3 separate regions of the Homo sapiens genome follow, and regions 1 and 2 are each linked to region 3. Evidence: promoter capture Hi-C in 16 types of primary human blood cells and fetal thymus (Javierre and others, 2016). All regions are on one chromosome and are shown on one strand. Each heading gives the region's core, a stretch centred on a gene start or on the middle of the fragment in contact. The rest is flanking DNA. Distances are from core to core; before and after follow the strand shown. Region 1 overlaps PKN2-AS1 (PKN2 antisense RNA 1). Region 2 overlaps PKN2 (protein kinase N2). Region 3 holds the start of FAF1 (Fas associated factor 1).

The links. The method cuts DNA at HindIII sites, captures the fragments that hold promoters and counts their contacts. A CHiCAGO score of 5 or more calls a contact.
Region 1: a contact is called between a fragment that was not itself captured here and the fragment with the promoter of FAF1 in region 3, in 2 of 17 cell types (total B cells and activated CD4 T cells). The highest score is 6.2, in total B cells.
Region 2: a fragment that was not itself captured here is called in contact with the fragment with the promoter of FAF1 in region 3 in 3 of 17 cell types (fetal thymus, naive CD4 T cells and activated CD4 T cells); the score reaches 20.1 in fetal thymus.

The regions. Positions count from the first base shown.
Region 1 is chr1:88,671,731-88,676,193 of GRCh38, forward strand. All of the region lies in intron 1 of PKN2-AS1 (PKN2 antisense RNA 1), which reads right to left. Among named protein-coding and RNA genes, the nearest start is that of PKN2, 10 kb to the right of the region's middle. The HindIII fragment of the contact is 2,851 bases long and covers 711-3,561 here.
Region 2 is chr1:88,693,378-88,697,941 of GRCh38, forward strand. The region is part of intron 1 of PKN2 (protein kinase N2); the gene reads left to right. Among named protein-coding and RNA genes, the nearest start is that of PKN2-AS1, 10 kb to the left of the region's middle. The HindIII fragment of the contact is 615 bases long and covers 2,078-2,692 here.
Region 3 is chr1:50,958,708-50,962,977 of GRCh38, forward strand. It overlaps FAF1 (Fas associated factor 1), which reads right to left and starts at 1,560. Exons shown (of 19, transcript NM_007051.3): 1 at 1,060-1,560. The coding sequence starts at 1,104. It also overlaps a transcript of CDKN2C not described here. RefSeq lists an enhancer at 847-896 and silencers at 1,207-1,256, 1,367-1,526. The HindIII fragment of the contact is 1,270 bases long and covers 449-1,718 here.

The sequences.
Region 1 (4,463 bases), core at 886-3,385, about 38 Mb after region 3:
TTTACATTTTATTAGGTATTCTAAGTAATCTAGAGATAATTTAAAATATACAGGGTAGGGTATATGCGAATACTATGCCATTTTACACAAGGGATTTGAGCATCTGTGGATTTGGATACGAGGGGGTGGTCCTGAAAACAATCACTCATGGACAACTGTATATAGATTTGACAAAAGGGAGAATTTTAAGAATGTAACTGATAAGGAAGATATGGATTATTGAGGGAGGATATTAAAGTTAGAATTGTTTTGGGGGGATGAGTTAGGTTCAAAACACACAAGAATTACAGATTTCAGAAGTATATAGAGATACAGAGATAGAGAAAAAAAATCCAAACCATAAAAAGAGTGGATGCTGTAGCTTGTGGAATATTACCCTTATTCACCAATCTGTTCAAAGTAATTTCTAACCCCATGGGATAGAGAAGGAAGTAAGTAGAGGAGAGCAGGAGAAAAAAATAATGGTATGCTGAAAAACATAGTTTGCCAATTGTAGATGTAACTATGATTTGTTTACAAGTTATATCTCTCCAAAAGACCAGGTCAATATCACACCAAGTGTAGAGGGAATGAATATACAGAAAATCTTCACCATTACACCTCAAATCTCTGCCAGGAATGTCCTGACTTTCATCCATTAATACTGCCTTAGGCAAAGGATGCCCCATCAACACTGCATACCGAACAAATCAAATCTAACACTTTGAGTAAGCTTTTTATTTTCATAAAAGCCTTTATAGCTTCTGGCCTCATTTACCTTTCAAATAAAAACAAATGAGTTGAGTTTATCATTATAACTAAGAAATTTAAATTCTTTCAGCATTTAAGTAATAGGAGAAGGCCCAAATTGAGATCAACTTTTAGCATGGTACCTACGGTAAGTAAAACAGGTACTAATGAAAAGTGATTAATTCAGAGCTGCCACAACTAAAATGTTAGTCTACATCATGAATCAGTTCGAAGATAAAAATGCATTTGAAGGTTAATGGTTTTAGAAAGATAGTTCAAAAGTGAAAAAACTGAGTTAATGTAAAATGTCTTAAATAACAGGCTACAAAAAATTATTTGCTTTATTATTATTCTATTACTATACTACTCACATAATGCCAAACCAAGAGGTTGAAATATAAGAAAATCTGGCTAATCAACAGTTATTTTAAACAAACATAAGTGAATTTTAACATTGTACAGTTATACCCACATGATTTCTACATGGTGAGTTTTGACATATTAGTCATAGCCTAAATAATATCTTTAAAAATAACTGACTTGAAATAAGAATAAGGATTTACTTTCCCTTATTTTGATAAACCTCTGTGTCCATTTTCCTTTATCTTTATTCATATATTGATATATATATTATAAATAGTGAATTTCAAATTTAAACATGGTTTGATCAGTATCAAAGATTATAGTACAGTTGATTAATGTAACATATTTTATTAACTCAGTACAAAAAATATTTTTGGAATGTTGACCTCGTCAAGATGGCATGCATTTTTTAGGCAAATAATTACTCCAAATACAGAGTCTATCAGCTGAGAAAACAGTGAAAAAATGATGTTAATAATATAGGTAAGATATATTTATGAAGAATTTATGGTAAGACAAATATAACCCAGAATAATTCTAAAAGCAAGTCCTATTCTTTTGGGTAAAAGCCCTTATAATATATTTATACCTACAATAGGTGATATAGTATCATTATATCTACAATACTTCAGATTTAATACAAACTCAACTTATAAGGTTGATCATTTTCATTGTTTTAATATAGTTGATAGTTCTTAGCTTTCCATTCTTAGCTCATAAGAAAATAGGAAGTATCTTTCTCTGAAGCAAGTGAACTCATGAGAAAAGTCTTGAATACTTCTCTGTAGCCCCAATTTCAAGTCACAGATTAAGTGTCCACATTGTTTGCAACTAAGTCACAGCTAAATTGCTTCAGAAATGTTTAGCAGATTGCTTTATAGCAGAATAACACAGTTTGAACCATAGTTTCTTGAATACATCTTGCTGGGAGCTTATTTCATTCAAATGGTGAAGGCAGCTGAAGTATGATATTTGAATCAGCCACATTTTGCTCTAATAAAGGAGAATTTTAGGATGCTCTAGTTGTGATAGGCAACAAAGTAAAGCAATTGAAATGTGGATCTTATATTTTATACAATTCAGACTGCTTGCATATGTGTGTGTGGTGATAAGGTACTTTAAAAATAAAATTTCATTTGGCAAGAGGCTTACAGTTAAACTGTAAAAGCAATACACAGATCATGTGAATTACCAGCATACAAAAATAAATATGCAAATGACTGTAATACTCTTCCAAAATAGCATCTTTAATAGGAAACCCTTCATAAGAATCTTTATAAAGTGACATATTTTAAAATCGCTTTTATATTTTATAAGTACCTATAACTAGCAGTTCTTATTTTTAATTAGAAAATACACATATTTTCAGCCACACTTGAATAAGTGGTATGTATGCACATAAAGAATGGTTACATATATACATTTCTATTATACATTTTAAAAATCATCAAACAAGTTCTTATCAAGCACTTTCTACTCATATTAAACTTTATATATTACTGGATGCTGTGGAGATTACAGAAGTAATATATATTGTTTTCACTCAAGAAGCTCAAAATCTACATGGGAAACACAGGAGTGAATATAATTGGATCCTAATGTGTGTATGCAGGTATAACCCCAGTAAATTTTAGATACTCCATAGATTTTGTCAAATGAGTGAATGAATTGTAAAAGCTAAACTGAGTTTTTGTTTTTGTTTTTTAGATGATTCTCAGTCTGTCTTCCAGGCTGGAGTGCAGTGGTGTGATCTCGGCTCCCTGCAACCTCTGCCTCCCAGGTTCAAGTGATTCTCCTGGCTCAGCCGCCTGAGTAGCTGGGACTACAGGTGCGTGCCACCATGCCGGCTAATTTTTTTTTTTTTTTTTTTTTTTTTTTTTGTATTTTTAGTAGAGACAGGGTTTCACCATGTTGGCCAGGCTGGTCTCAAACTCCTGACTTCAGGTGATCTTCCTGCTTCGCCATCCTAAAGTGCTGGTATTACAGGTGTGAGTCACCCCTCCTGGCCAAGCTAAAATGTTTTTAATCACTCACTTTAGATAGTTTAAATATTTCAAAAAATTCTATCAATGGAAAGTTTGAGAAGAGGGCCTATTTAAATATCTGACTTGGAATGTATATTCTAGTTAAATATTGCCATGTATATCTATTATTCTGTCCCCCCTTCCCCCAACCAAACCAACCAACCAACCATTTCATTATGCTCACAAATTCTATGGTTTGGGAGTTTGTACAGGACATAGTGGGGATTGTCTCTTTCCATGATGTCTAGGGCCTCAAATAGGATGCTTCCAACAGCTGGAAGCAACTTGAACTGGTGGGGACTGGAAGGGCTGAGAATGGAAGATCTCTTACCAAGAGGGAAATAGGTCTTTACCCTCCTGTCTGGTGACTGGGCTGGGATGATTTAAAGGCTAGGTTCAGCTAGGACTATCAACCACAACACCTATATATATGGCTTCTCCATGAAGCTTTGACTTCTTACAGAACAGTGGCTGGGTTCTGAGAAGGTTCAAGCTAGGAGGGAGTTTTCTAAGAATTTATGGTCTTTTTTTTTTATAACTGATATATATAATACATTTGCTCTGAAGCTCACATTTTAAAGCCTGAGAAGTAGAATGCTTTACCAACGGCAAAAATCACTGACTAAAATACCTATGAAGTGGATATTGTGAATTGTCCATCAAAATCCACCCTGTCCCTGTTCTGTAGGAAGAGTTGTAGCAAGGTCCATAACTACACAGTTAGAGATGACATTTCTCAGCCTCATTTGAAGCTAGGTGTGGCCATGTGACTACATTCCCAGAATGGAATATGAACAGAAATGTGTAATTTTGAGCCTGGGTCTCAAGACATTGGATATATGATCCTCCATGCTCCTTTTTCTTTCGCATGAGGTAGATCATGGAGTTCCTTGACCCATCTTCAACCATGCAGCTGAGAATAATGCCATGGTGAATGATAAGTTAGAAAGTGCACAGCAACAAGATAGAAAAAACCTGGGTTCCTGGTACAGTCTTTGTGTGTGAGAAATAAGCAAATTTCAGTGTTCTTTAAGCCATAGTGTTTTGGGTCCTCTTTGATAGAAAAGTTTAGCTTTACTCTAATTCAGATAGTACATACACATGATTGAATGATAGCTGGATGCTGAAGAAATGATGGTAGGGAAAGCAAGCTCCCTGTTGTCCATCTCCCCCAACCAAACCCTTTAAAATGTTTGGTATGGTCAATATTTTTGTATCTATTGACTTTTATTGCTATTTTAAGTTGCAGAAGATGTTTCTGATGAAGGAAGCACTAGTAGTAAAATGGTCATGTTTATTATGTAAATTTTTTCATACTTATATTCCTTTTCCATTTTGACATGGCCA
Region 2 (4,564 bases), core at 1,135-3,634, about 38 Mb after region 3:
TGTGCATCTTTTGATAAAAAAAATTCTTAAGTCAAATTTGTCCATTGTTTATCATACAGTAAGTCCTCACTTAATGTCATTGACGGGTTCTTGGAAACTGACTTTAAGCAAAATAACTTATAATGAAACCAGTTTCTTTTTTCTCATCAGTGTTCTAAGGAAATGATATTATAAACAATGAAACATTAGCCAGAAGTGGTGATGCACACCTGTAGTCCCAGCTACTTTGGAGGTGGAGGTGAGAGAATGACTTGAGCCCAAGAGTTAAGGCTGCAGTGAGCTGGAATCGTGTCATTGCACTCTAACCTGGGCAGCATAGTGAGACCCTGTCTCAAAAAAAGAAAGAAAAGAAATGATATTGAGCGAAACAGCATTATTAAAGGACCTGAAGCACATTGTTTTTCTTAAAGTCTCAGTTCCAAGAACCTATCAGCAGTGTTAAGTGAGGACTTACTGTAATTGCTTTTCATGCCCTTTTAAATAAATTATTCCCTATCCTGGGTTTAAAAGATAGCTACCCAAGTTTGCTCCTAAGAATCTTGCAGTTTTATTTTTTAGATTTAAGTCAGTTTATCTGGATTTGTTGTTTTTTAATAGACTTCATATTTTAAAGCAGTTTTAGGTCCACAGCAAAATCGAGAGGAAGGTCTAGAGATTTCTCAAATAACTGCGTCCCTACATATGTACATATGCATTATCGACATCCTCCACAAGAGTACATTTGTTGCAGTTGATGAACCTATATTGACACATCATCATCATCCAGAGCCCAGAGTGCACACATCTTGGTGTTGTGCATTCTATGGGTTTGTACAAATGTATAATGACATGTATCCAGCATTATAGTATACAGAATAGTGTCCCTGCACTAAGCTTATTCTCTGTGTTCTACCTATTCATCCTTCCCTCTCCTCCATCCCCTGGCAACCACTGATCTTTTTACAGTTTCCATAGTTGTGCGTTTGGGAAAATCTCATGCGGTTGGAATCATACAGTGTGTAGCCATTTTACATGGGTTTCTTTCACTTAGAAATAAGCATTTAATTTTCCTCCATGTCTTTTCATAGCTTGATAGCTTATTTCTTTTTAGTACTGAATAATATCCCATTGTCTGTATGTACCTTAGTTTATTCATTCACCTACTGAAGGACATCTTGGTTGCTTCTGTTTTGGCAGTTATGAATAAAATGCTATAGACATCCTATGCAAGTTTTTGTGTGGATGCAACTTTTCAACTCCTTTGGTTAAATACCAGGGTGTCCAATTGTATGGTAAGAATATATTTAGATTTGTAAGAAACTCCCAAACTGCCCTCCAGAGTGCCCGAACTATTTTGTATTCCTACCAACAATAAGAGTTTTTGTTGTTCCACACCATCTCCAGTATTTGGTGTTGTCAGTTTTCTGGATTTTGGTCATTCTAATAAGTGTATCATGGTATCTCATTTCTGTTTATTTAATAGCATTGATTTTTGAATATGGAGATAGGTCTGAGTTATTTTAATGTTTAAAAACATTTTGAAGGCCAAGGCGGGCAGATCATGAGGTCAGGAGATCGAGAGATCACAGTGAAACCCCGTCTGTACTAAAAATACAAAAAATTAGCCGGGCGTGGTGGCGGGCGCCTGTAGTCCCAGCTATTCTGGAGGCTGAGGCAGGAGAATGGCGTGAACCCGGGAGGCAGAGCTTGCAGTGAGCCGAGATTGCGCCACTGCACTCCAGCCTGGGCGACAGAGCGAGACTCCATCTCAAAAAAAAAAAAATTTTGAAATGTCTGTCAGACGTCTTTATAATGCAAATTTAAAATAGAGCACTTTTCAGCTTTTAGGATAGAAACATCTACACATAGCTTTATTAGCCTAACTCTAACTTGCAAAAATTAATCAAATATGATTAATTAAAATTAATTAAAATTAATCATTTGATTAATCAAATTTGATAAATTCTTGCCAGTTAGAGTTACATCATGCTAGGTTATGTATTGAACTATACCTGAACTTATCCTTACCTAGCTCAGTAATACCTCACTTTTTCCTTATTATATCAATTTGTGGTTCTTTTGTTTTTTTATCTCCTGAAGCTTTGGGTTAGTAAAGGTCATCCTTGTCTTAACTCTTATTGACACCCATCCCATTCCCCAGTTGTGGCTCAAACTTTTTATGTTGTTTTCTGTCATCCAACCTACTCCTGCTCTTTTGTTCTCAGCATATCACTCATCTCTATGTAGTGATACGTGCTGTTCAACCACGTGAGTTTCCTCAAGTTTTCTTGTCTTTACTTTCAGATTTCTTGGAATGTTAGCCATCCTTTTTATTTCTACTGAATTTTAAGGAAAAATTGCTTCTTCTTGGTAAGGTTATACTTTCCTGGGCTTTTGCTTCCTCTGGAATATCATGTTTTACTCTTTTGCAGGGTGGGGCTTTGCATTATCCACTGGCTCTTGGCTTAAAAATAAGTTAACGTCTCTCATGTTTTTATTATACTCTTTAATACTGTTGTACCCTCAAATTTCTTTCTTTTTTAAAGAAATTTCTTAGATGCCTTGTCTACCGTTTATTTAGCTTACTCATATATGACTTCTGTCTCAGTTATTCTGTTGAAGTGGTTTTCTTAAAGGTATCATGACATTCTGTTGCTTCTAGTCTTTAGACGCAATTGATACTGCTCCAGCTTCCTGAAACTATTGTTAATTAAGCTTTGAGGACCCTGCACTATATTGGTTACTTTTCTTTCATCATACCTGCCTCTGTTTGTTACTACTGCTTTTGTTTGGTAACTCCTTTTCTACCTTAAATGTTCCACCTATTTGTAGCCTATTTTCCCATTAATTTATCCTTCAGATTAACCACCGGAATCTGATTAACCGCCAAAACCTTGTTTAGTAACAGTTGCAGAAAATAGAAACCCACTTAAATTAGCTTAAGCAGAAATTGGATTTTTTGAAAAGCTATGGGGTTGTATCACTTAAGGGTAAGATGTATAGCCAGATCCCATGAGTACTAAACAGGAAACTGGATGTTTTCTTTCTAGGGCTACATGTTCTCTTTTCTTTAAGTATGTGTACTGCTTTATGTCTCTGTATACTGGTTCTCTTTGCTCTCCTTGCCTGTGGTCTCCAAGTTGCACTCCTAACTTCTAAATTTACATTAACTACAAGTTCATTGCACATAGACCACAGCTGACTGACTGAGTTGCTATATGTCACAATTCTAAATTCTTAGATGAGAAAATCTGAGTGGCCTTAGTCAGTGGAACATGTGTCCCTGATCCAGCTAACTATGGCAGTGGAGGGATGAGATTCTCTAGTATCAATATGGCTTCAAGAAACCTCTTGTGAGGTTGGGACAGACTATTTTCTGAAAAGGGATTCTAGGTTGAGAATTCTAGGGATTCTCCTGCTTAAATGTTTCAGTTACTTTCCATCGATTATAGAATAAAATATATTTATACTTTTCATCATCTGACCCCCATTTTTTCTGATTTTTCTCCCTATTTATCTTACACTCTGGAATATTAAAACTATTTACATTTCTTTGAACCACACTCCCTATCTTTGCATATGCTGATTCTGGTTTTAAGAATACTAATATTGCTTGTCTGTCTGAACAGCATTTGACAAATTGGACAATCCTTAAAATTCTGATAAGAAAATCATATTCATTGACTATATGAATATATTTATATCTAATAAAAGTTTTACTTAAGATATATTTTTGATTAATAAATTTAGGGAATTGGTCATGAAGCATTTTGATACATTTGCAAATTAGTCTCTGATTTTACAGCTCCTGTTATTGAATAATATATCACTTAATATGGTAATTGTTACATGTCTCTACTACTTTCAAGACAGGAACTAGGTCTTACTCCTCTTTATGTCGCTAGCAACTGACATATAGGTTATGCTTAATAAATGCTTGAATAAATAAATGAACAGATTTTAAAAAACATTATATGACCAATCTGCCAGACCTGACTTCTCTAAATTTCCAAAAGCTATTCTTCCCCTGGCTGCTAGAAATCTGCTAGTTACTTTTATTTGACTGTTGCTTCAGTCTCTTCAGTTGTTTCTTCTACTTCTGTATCTTGAGTTCATTCATTACTTTGCCATTGTTTAAGTGTGGGCCTTCATTATCATTTGGATGATTATAATATCTTGATATTTTACCTCCACCTCTTTTGCCTTGTTCTGCTGTTATTTAAACTATGTACAATTGCTAGATTCAGAATTTGTCCTTAGCATTCAGTGACTCCTTAATGCCTGTGGGATATAGTCCTAATTCCTTAGCTAGGCAATCCAAGCTGTCATTGTTGTAGCCCCAAAATGCTTTTCATTCTTAAGTCTTACTCATGTAAGCAGCTTATTTTTTCAGGCATACTATGATTAGTGATTTTTCCTCACCTGTATTTTTACTACATTCTGTCAGCTGGAATACTTCAAGGCCAAATTCAAATTTTGCATATTTATTTTTTTCCTTATTTTCCCCTACTCATGTTCAGTCTCTCCTCAAAACTTAAGAATATTTTCTATCTCATGACATTTATTATATATTGCATTGTACTGT
Region 3 (4,270 bases), core at 310-2,809:
AAAAATAAGGAACTTAATAGAACAGAGAGAGAGAAAAGCCCAACAAAATTTCAGCAAGGAAAAATACTGCCTACTAAGCTAGTGTTAGAACCTGTGCAATGTGAGTATTAAAAAAGAGGGAAAAGTCTGCCTATACTTGACAGTAGCTTCTAAGTTGATGCCAAAATGGCCAAAAATATCTCACTAAAATAATTCCTTCACCAAACATCAAAAGGCAAAGGTAGCACTCACAGGATATTAGTTCTAGCTCCAAGTCTTTCACAATGCATACAGTTCTACTTTCAAAGGGCCTTCCTAAGATACTTACATGTCAGTGGCACTACGACTGGGTTTATTAAGAGAACAGCCTTTACTTATCCTTTAAAGTATTCCTGGAGAAAGGACACCAACCAAGCAATTCAAGTCTGTAGGGGAGGGGAATCCGCAAATATGAATAGGTAATTTATTAAGCTTGTGAATTCATTGCAGAGATACTCTGGAATATATAGTCTTATCTGTCTCCTTGTTATCTTCTTACCCTCCAAAGATTCCAATTAGGCAAAGTCTCAAATGTTTACTCCTCTTTGAAAAGGACCTCAGTACCCCATTGTCATTGCCCTCGCCATCTCATCATTCTGCTTTTTTACTCTTCCCTTAATACAATATAAATACACCACGCCCATAACACCACACGCTCCACGCTCACACTCCATACATCTCTCCCCACAGAACCACCCAAAACATCCCATACTTAATGGTCCAACACCAATTAAAACAAAAACTCTACACGTCCCCCCATATAATACAGGAAACACTACACATTCCACACACATTGTAACCCAAGTCATTAATACCTCCAATCCCATTCAACCCGTACTTAACACATTCTACACACTCATGATAGCATATAAATTATACGCTTCTCCATAGCTCGCCACACACACACACACACGCCACGCACCGTATAAAAGCCTAAATGACACACCACTGCAGCGTTCAAACGCTGGGAAGAAGACTCCCTTGTGGCACCGGAAACCCACGAGGTTGGAAGTGGGAGGGGAAGAGGGCCAGATACTTCACCTGAAAATCCGCCAGGATCATCTCCCGGTCCATGTTGGACGCCATGGCGGCCGCCGAGTTCCGCGGCTCCGGGAGCGAAGCGCGCACCTGGGAGGCAGACGGCACCTCCTGCGACCGTCGCCGCCACCGCCGCCGCCGCCGCCGGGCGCCGAGGGGCTGGCGGGCGAGCCGGCGGGCGGGTCGGCGGGCCAGCGGGCGGGGCAGCGCGGGAAGCGCTAGGCGCTCATGCACTCGGTAACCTTCAGGCGCCCCGGCCGCCCGCCTGCAACCTGCGGAGCCCGCGTCGCAGCAGCCCGGACAGGAAGATTGGTCTGGATGTGGGTCCGGTCTTACAGTCGCGGGCCAGGATGAGGGCAGGTTGCGACAGCGCGCACCCGGATACCTTCAGCGGCGTTAAGCCCGGCGGGGGCGGGGAAACCGAGCGAGCGAGCGGGCGGGCGAACGCCGCGGCCGCCTCCGCCTCCTCCGCTTCCTCCCTGGCCGCCGCCTCCGCCCCTGGTTGGCCAGCGCCACGGCTGTCGCACATTTTGCCTGTCATCGAGGTCGCAAAGCGCCGCTTTGCGGCTCCACGTGACCACCCTCCTGTCAAGCGCTGAGCGCGCGACTACCCGGCCAGGATCTCTGCGCTGGCGGCAGAGACTGCAACCTGCAGCTGCGGAAGCTTCAAGTCTCGCAACAGGTTATTCCAGTTTGGATTTAAGCAAAGGCCTCAGGATAGCGCCTCCCCCTAGCTGAGGCGGGGACCAGATTGTGCACCTCACGTGGTTAGTCACACAAATACACACCACCCTCACAAACCAACTAAACACACTGTTACAACTCGTCTAACAAACAGCATTTCAGAAATATATGTTTTTCTCTACAATGTTTCAGCAAAATACAGCTTCATATAGTCTCTCACGCTCAACCTGTCAAAACCGAATCCACACTGTCACACCCAGTCCCAAGCTCCCTGACGTCTGCATCCTCAGACTCCGTAACACAGAAGTAACCAGACTGCCATGGTAGACATGGGAGAGACGAGGAAGCTGAGAAAGGTAAAAATCTCGTTCCAGAGAAGAGGAGGAGCATTTTTTTTAATTGATAAGGTAGTTATGAGAAATAACAACCTCGAGTTAATAGGGTTGCTCCAAAGGGGGAAAAAAGGGAAAACCTTTCTACTGCTGCAGTTATATTTGTTTTTTTAAGCTGAGACATCTTACAAATGGGATAAAACTTGAATCCAGCTTTGAATATAGTCAGTCTATTTTTATTTATTTATTTATTTATTTATTTATTTATTATTTTGAGACGGAGTCTCGCACTGTGGCCCGGGCTGGAGTGCAGTGGCGCGATCTCGGCTCGCTGCGACCTCCGCTTTCTGGGTTCAAGCGATTCTCCTGCCTCAGCCTCCATAGTAGCTGGGATTACAGGCTCCCGCCACCAAGCCCGGCTAAGTTTTTTTTGTATTTTTAGTAGAGACGGGGTTTCACTATGTTGGGCAAGCTGATCTCGAACTCCTGTCCTCGTGATCCGCCCTCCTCGGCCTCCCAAAGTGTTGGGATTACAGGCGTGAGCCACTGCACCCGGCCTATTCATTTTCATAAGAAATTATTTTGGAATATTCACCAAATATTGAAAGTTTCAACCCATGGTCAGAAATTGACAACCTCTGTAACTAAAACAGCCAAAGACTATGTACAATGAAGTGTGACAGTTTGTAATTGTCGTCCAGGTTAGAGAAAGTGTGACAGTGGAAGTTGTTCATCCTTGACTTGGGAAAATATCAGCTTCTGGATTGTCATGGGGCATTTACTTGCTTTGGAAAGTATGTAAAAGCTTGAAAATGTGAAGTAAGATTGCTGATTTTATCCTGTAGAGCTAAAATAACTAGTGAAATCATCATGTAGCATGAAGGCCTAGGCTTCCCTTAAGAACTTTTTAAACTTGTATCATTTATTTACTTTTTTAGAGACAGGGCCTCACTATGTTGCCCAGGCTGGCTTCCAACTCCTGTGCTCAAGCCATCCTCCCACCTCAGCCTCCTGAGAGTGGGGATTACAGGTGTGAGCCATACCACCACACCCAGCAAGGCCTAGGCTCCATAAACTGGGAATATATTCATGAGAAATCAGAAATATGACCTAATTGTTCAGTTTCACTGAATATAAAGAAGTGCACTGTATTATGATCTGAGTTTATTCTGTGTGTTTCCTTAAATGAAAATAGGCTGGCCTACAGTTCTTAAGTACTAATCTGTGTTTAGACCAGAATTAGCTAGATAATAGAACCCTCCACAGTCACATGAATCAAAATGTCTTGCTTAATTTTCAGCCGTAAGAAAATAATTCCATGGCCAGGGCAGTGGCTTATGCCTATAATCCCAACACTTTGGGAGGCCGAGGCAGGCAGATCACTTGAGGTCAGGAGTTCAAGACCAGCCTGGCCAACATAGTGAAATCCCATCTCTGCTAAAAATAATACAAAAATTAGCTGGGCATGGTGGCATATGCCTGTAGTCCCAGCTACTAGGGAGGCTGAGGGAGGAGAATCACCTGAACCTGGGAGGTGGAGGTTGCAGTGTGAACCAAGATCACACTACTGCACCCCAGCCTGGGTGACAGAGTAAAACTGTTTCAAAATAAATAAATAAATATTTTTTTAAAAAGAAAGTAATTCCAAAAGTCAGCACAAATGTGAATCATGAGGCAAAACACAGCACCAATAATATAAATGTGGCAATTCAGTTGCCCCATTCATATAGGCCACCCTCAGTATAAGGCAGGTGAATAATTGTTTCTAGTTATATGGCCAAGGATTAATGCAGTCCTAAAAAGTTGAGAGTTTTTCTCTGTAATGATGCGTGTGTACCTCAGAACCCATTCAAATCCCATGTTGCTCCCTTTTTCTTTCCTTTCTCTCCATCTGGAAATTAAAACAATGTGGTATGTAGAACAATGGGATGAACACACTAGACATTCAGGCATATATTAGTACTGCTTTTCCAAATAATTAGCTGAGGGAACTTGGATGAGTCATTTAATCTCTCTGACTTCAGCTACTCACAGGACTATTTCCTCTGATAAATGAAAAAACAATTATGAAAATGCATGGAAAATATAAAATATTGGTATCACACTAACATAAATTTAATAGTCAATAATTGTGGTTTGAGTTCTAACTCTGCTCTTTAACAAAGGCTCTCTGGTTCTATTTCTTTATCTCTAAAATT